2 separate regions of the Homo sapiens genome follow, and region 1 is linked to region 2. The links are contacts of gene promoters, found by promoter capture Hi-C in blood cells and fetal thymus (Javierre and others, 2016). All regions are on one chromosome and are shown on one strand. Each heading gives the region's core, a stretch centred on a gene start or on the middle of the fragment in contact. The rest is flanking DNA. Distances are from core to core; before and after follow the strand shown. Region 1 holds the start of RBM5-AS1 (RBM5 antisense RNA 1). Region 2 holds the start of AMIGO3 (adhesion molecule with Ig like domain 3).

Region 1 (2,700 bases), core at 110-2,609, 380 kb before region 2:
ATTCTGACATATCCACTGCATCAAACAATGCTATCATGTCAAGAAAGCAGACTCACATGAACCTTGTATATGTTCTGGATTTACTAGGATGGTATCTATGGTATGAAATGAATGAAGCTCTACTTTTAATAAAATCAGGCTGTGATTTCTGGGTTAGGAAAATGAGAGGCTTAAAAACTTTAACAAATCAGTCAGTCAAAGTGATACCCTCATTAGTGAGTCTTGTTATAAATGGCAATATTACCAATCAAAGAATGTAACTTTTATTCATGGATTCATGGATGACTCAAATCACAGAATGCTGCAGAAAAGCAAGATAATGAGTCAAGCAAACTTCCCAGAATGCACTTGGTTAAAGGCATTCAATAATGTGCCTTGGAGTTCTTGCAAAAAATGTTATTTAAGTGCCAAGCACTGAACATTATCTTGACAAACTGAAGAACACTTCAGTTAACACTACCTCGAAGAACCATCAATGACTTGCTTTGAACAGACTATAAAAGGCATTCTCAAGGAGATTAGAATGTTAATGCCACTCTAACTAGATTAGACAGCTGCAGGACACCACTCCCAGGCTAATCTCATCAGACTTATTGTTCATAAATTCCACTAAGTCCTTAAATATTCCCTGAAGACCGGTCTGAGCAGTTACGCCTCCAGGAGGCTTTGTGGTCTTCAGGCAGAAATAAGGAATTACTTATAAAAATGCCGCCACAGACTTTCACTATGTTCTCTTCACTGTCAAATGGAGAGTTTGATATACTAAGCTTACTCTCAATGGACATAATAGGAATATAACAAACTAGAAAAAAGGGAAACATTAAGATGTTTTAGTGATTACCAGACAGGTATTCAGTAGTTAACAAAGCCCTGCCAGGTAGGTAGCCATGTTTAAAGGCAGAACAAATTCTATAATGAAGTCCTTGGTACTGTACTTATTCTAGTAACATCAATTTTAATATATACAAAGCTTTTTTTTTAAAAAAAAGTCACTCCTTTGGAACAAACCACTCCTTCAACCTTTTTTTAAAATTGTACAGACTTGTTCCATTTTCATGAATATCTAGACTTGGTGAGTGAAGCAACCTGATTGGCTTCCATCCAGCTGGTAGCATCTTGCAAGTGATAAAACTCCACGAAGGCGAAACCACGGCTTACACCTAGAGACAGCATTCAGATATAGACGGGATACTTGTGTTAGTCAGTTCCTTTATAACAGGTGAATCTCTCTCCCACTGCTTCAACACTGCGTGACAAAGCCAATTGGGAAGCAGCTTTACAAATGTGACTTGACTTGGGGATCTTCTTGATACTTTGCCATGGCAAGGAACAAGCCGCCTGAACTAAATGCCACTCCATTTGATTCCACGCTTAAAGTAACCATGCAACCGACTATAGTCAAAAAAAAAAAGGAGTTTATAAATCATTACTTACCTAAGGAAAAAAAAGTCCCTAAAACAAAGTTTAAAAAAGTTCCTCAGATGCTAACATGGTTTTCAAAGAGTCACATTCCTTAGCCATGGCAAACCTTTCATTCTGAATTCATGTGCTTGAAGACTGGGGGAATCAGGATGTTCTTTAGGGACTGAGGTGGGAATGGGGAAGAGAACAATAATATCAGGAACTAAGCAAGCTCTCACCTGTTTTCCTCTTCATCAGCCTCACATCCGCAGGCTGAGGGCCTTCGAAGGACTCCATCATTTCTCGAATCTGCACAGGGTTTTACATTATTTACAGTTAAAGCTTTTGCCACACACTATTCCCCATGGAATAGGAATTACATCAACTGTTTAATTAGCCAAGTTTTTTTTTTTTTTAAGATGGGAGTCTCTGTCTCTCACTCACTTGATTGCCCAGGCTGGAGTGCAGTGGCATGATCTCAGCTCACTGCAACCACCACCTCCTGGGTTCAAGCAATTCTCCTGCCTCAGCCTCCCGAGTAGCTGGGATTATAGGTGTGCACCACCATGCGTGACTGATTTTTTTTTTTTTTTGAGACGGAGTCTCGCTCTGTCACCCAGGCTGGAGTACAGTGACGTGATCTCGGCTCACTTCAACCTCCACCTCCTGGATTCAAGCGATTCTTCTGCCTCAGCCTCCCAGGTAGCTGGGATTACAGGCATCCACCACCACATCCAGCTAATTTTTGTATTTTTAGTAGAGACGGGGTTTCACTGTGTTGGACAGGCTAGTCTCGAACTCCTGGCCTCAAGTGATATGCCAGCCTCCCATATCATTACATGCATGACCCACCATGCCTGGCCTAATTAGCCAAGTTTTTATCTTCTATCACCAAAATGCAATTTTCCTAAAAGGCACAAAAAAGAGAGAACATTTCTCATAGAAATTAATGCATTATAACAGCACTGAAGGCATTCATTAAATGTTGCATGGGAATTTCCCTCAGGTGTAATTAATTTTTCCTTTTTTTTTTTTGAGACAGGGCCTAGCTCTGACACCCAGGCTGAAGTGCACTGGTGTGATCTCAGCTCACTGCAACCTCTGCCTTCCTGGACTCAAGTGATCCTCCCACCTCAGCCTCCTAAGTAGCTGGGACTACAAATGCACACCACCACACCTGGTTAATTTTTGTATTTTTTGTAGAGACAGAGTTTTGCCACGTTGCCCAGGCTGGTCTGGAACTCCTGGGCTCAAGCGATCCGGCCACCTTGGCCTCCCAAAGTGCTAGGATTACAGGAG
Region 2 (2,797 bases), core at 272-2,771:
GGTGCTGGTTGATACAGGCTCTACAACAGGGGAGGGGATGAGGACTGCCCTGCATGTACCTACTGCTCTCCCCACCACCAAGCTGTGGGGCCCACTTACTTGCAGGACTTGTGGCCACAGGGCTGGAACACAGCAGAGATGGGGTGGGCATAGCAGATGGGGCAGAGGTCCTCCTCACTGGTGGGCTGCAGGGAGGAGAGTGAAGGGTGGGCTGGAGTTGGATGCCTGGCTATGTGGATGTCCGTTGTGCCTGTGTAGGAGTGCACACATATTCAAGTGGCATGGACCTGTGCACCGTGTTCCCACTCACCAGGGAGGCAGCTGCTGCCTGGGCAGATGCAGAGGTCAGGTGCGCCAGCATCTGTTCCACTTGGGCCAGCTCATCGGCACTGATATAATCCGCATCTGGGGAGTGGTAGGTAGTGTCAAGTCAGAGGTAGCTGAGGATGTGATGCCTCTTGAATATTCCCAGCCTAGGACTTTGCTGTTCTTAAGGCTCCTGACCCGACCCAGCCCCAGATTTCCCTGACCTGCCCCACCAGCCCACTCACAGCTCTGCAGGGAGAAGCGCTTCCGGTCAGGGGCTGGCAGAGCAGTGCCAGGTGCTGGGGGCTCTGGCTGTCCCAGGAGATAGCATATTGAGCGTAGCTGGAAGCAGGGATCTGCCAGGAGCACTGATGTGGCTTGCTCTCTCCTAGGTAGGGGAGGGTGCAAGGGCAGTCAGAAGGCTTGGGGCCTGGCTAAAAGTCTCTCTTGGGATTGCCAATGAGGAGTGCCATGGCTCGTACATGATCACCCCCCCTGCATCCTTTCCGTCTCCCTGCTTCCCAAACCCCAAGTCCTGTATTCTAGTAAGGTGCCACACAGCCTGTTTTTTTTTTTTTTTTCTTGAGACGAGTCTCGCTCTGTTGCCCAGGCTGGAGTGCGATGGCACGATCTCGGCTCACTGCAACCTCCACCTCCCGGGTTCAAGTGATTCTCCTGCTTTAGCCTCCCGAGTAGCTGGAATTGCAGACGCCCACCACCACGCCCGGCTAATTGTTGTATTTTTAGTAGAGACAGGGTTTCACCAGGTTGGCCAGGCTGGTCTCGAATTCCTGACCTCAGGTGATCCACCTGCCTTGGCTTCCCAAAGTGCTGGGATTACAGGCGTGAGCCACCGCGCCCGGCCTGGGGTACCACTTTAAGAAGGCTCAGGCGAACCACCTTAAGATAGTGAGAGTCTGCCTGCCCCATAATATTATCAGTCCTTCAAAGTCACTTCAAATAAACACTAACAGCAGCTTGGAGACATTCTTCCAGACTCCCCCTTTTACTCCCCGAGGAAAAACGAGCGGCGGAGAGCTGCCAGCCAAAGGCTGACGGGGACTTTGGGGTTGGCCTTGCTCCCCATCTGGCGGTCATGCGGGGCCATTGGGCACAAAGGGATGTAGCCGCCCCGCCTCCTCAAACGGGAACCAATAGGAGCCCGGGCCCCGCCCCTGGGGGGAGTATTTAGGAGCCGATCAGGAACTCGCTTGGAGAGGGCTAGCGAAGCCGAAGGGAGCGCGGCTAAGAGTGCCGCACCGCCTCACAACCTGGGAACCGGAGAGTAGGGGCCGTCGGCTGGCAAGAACCCGCCGTGCCTCCTCGGCAAGGGCCATCCGGTGCCACCCATGTCGCACTAGAGCAGAAGAGGGTGAGTCCTGGAACTGCAACCTGCACAGAGCTGCTCTGTACTGTCCCTGGTGGTCGCCGCCATGACCTGGTTGGTGCTGCTGGGGACACTGCTCTGCATGCTGCGCGTTGGGTTAGGCACCCCGGACTCCGAGGGTTTCCCGCCCCGTGCGCTCCACAACTGCCCCTACAAATGTATCTGCGCTGCCGACCTGCTAAGCTGCACTGGCCTAGGGCTGCAGGACGTGCCAGCCGAGTTACCTGCCGCTACTGCGGACCTCGACCTGAGCCACAACGCGCTCCAGCGCCTGCGCCCCGGCTGGTTGGCGCCCCTCTTCCAGCTGCGCGCCCTGCACCTAGACCACAACGAACTAGATGCGCTGGGTCGCGGCGTCTTCGTCAACGCCAGCGGCCTGAGGCTGCTCGATCTATCATCTAACACGTTGCGGGCGCTTGGCCGCCACGACCTCGACGGGCTGGGGGCGCTGGAGAAGCTGCTTCTGTTCAATAACCGCTTGGTGCACTTGGACGAGCATGCCTTCCACGGCCTGCGCGCGCTCAGCCATCTCTACCTGGGCTGCAACGAACTCGCCTCGTTCTCCTTCGACCACCTGCACGGTCTGAGCGCCACCCACCTGCTTACTCTGGACCTCTCCTCCAACCGGCTGGGACACATCTCCGTACCTGAGCTGGCCGCGCTGCCGGCCTTCCTCAAGAACGGCCTCTACTTGCACAACAACCCTTTGCCTTGCGACTGCCGCCTCTACCACCTGCTACAGCGCTGGCACCAGCGGGGCCTGAGCGCCGTGCGCGACTTTGCGCGCGAGTACGTATGCTTGGCCTTCAAGGTACCCGCGTCCCGCGTGCGCTTCTTCCAGCACAGCCGCGTCTTTGAGAACTGCTCGTCGGCCCCAGCTCTTGGCCTAGAGCGGCCGGAAGAGCACCTGTACGCGCTGGTGGGTCGGTCCCTGAGGCTTTACTGCAACACCAGCGTCCCGGCCATGCGCATTGCCTGGGTTTCGCCGCAGCAGGAGCTTCTCAGGGCGCCAGGATCCCGCGATGGCAGCATCGCGGTGCTGGCCGACGGCAGCTTGGCCATAGGCAACGTACAGGAGCAGCATGCGGGACTCTTCGTGTGCCT

Evidence for each region. The method cuts DNA at HindIII sites, captures the fragments that hold promoters and counts their contacts. A CHiCAGO score of 5 or more calls a contact.
Region 1: a fragment that was not itself captured here is called in contact with the fragment with the promoter of AMIGO3 in region 2 in 1 of 17 cell types (endothelial precursors); the score reaches 5.9 in endothelial precursors.

The regions. Positions count from the first base shown.
Region 1 is chr3:50,098,992-50,101,691 of GRCh38, reverse strand. RBM5 (RNA binding motif protein 5) reads right to left here. Exons shown (of 25, transcript NM_005778.4): 5 at 1,641-1,710; 6 at 1,087-1,160. It overlaps RBM5-AS1 (RBM5 antisense RNA 1), which reads left to right and starts at 704. Exons shown (of 1, transcript NR_045388.1): 1 at 704-2,089. RefSeq lists a silencer at 1,049-1,249. The HindIII fragment of the contact is 773 bases long and covers 973-1,745 here.
Region 2 is chr3:49,718,408-49,721,204 of GRCh38, reverse strand. It overlaps AMIGO3 (adhesion molecule with Ig like domain 3), which reads left to right and starts at 1,521. Exons shown (of 1, transcript NM_198722.3): 1 at 1,521-2,797. The coding sequence starts at 1,740. It overlaps RNF123 (ring finger protein 123), which reads right to left. Exons shown (of 39, transcript NM_022064.5): 36 at 552-694; 37 at 311-405; 38 at 100-185; 39 at 1-20. GMPPB (GDP-mannose pyrophosphorylase B) reads left to right here. Exons shown (of 9, transcript NM_021971.4): 9 at 1-1,289. RefSeq lists a silencer at 1-162 and enhancers at 1,157-1,386, 2,157-2,266, 1,748-2,555. The HindIII fragment of the contact is 8,800 bases long and covers 1-2,797 here.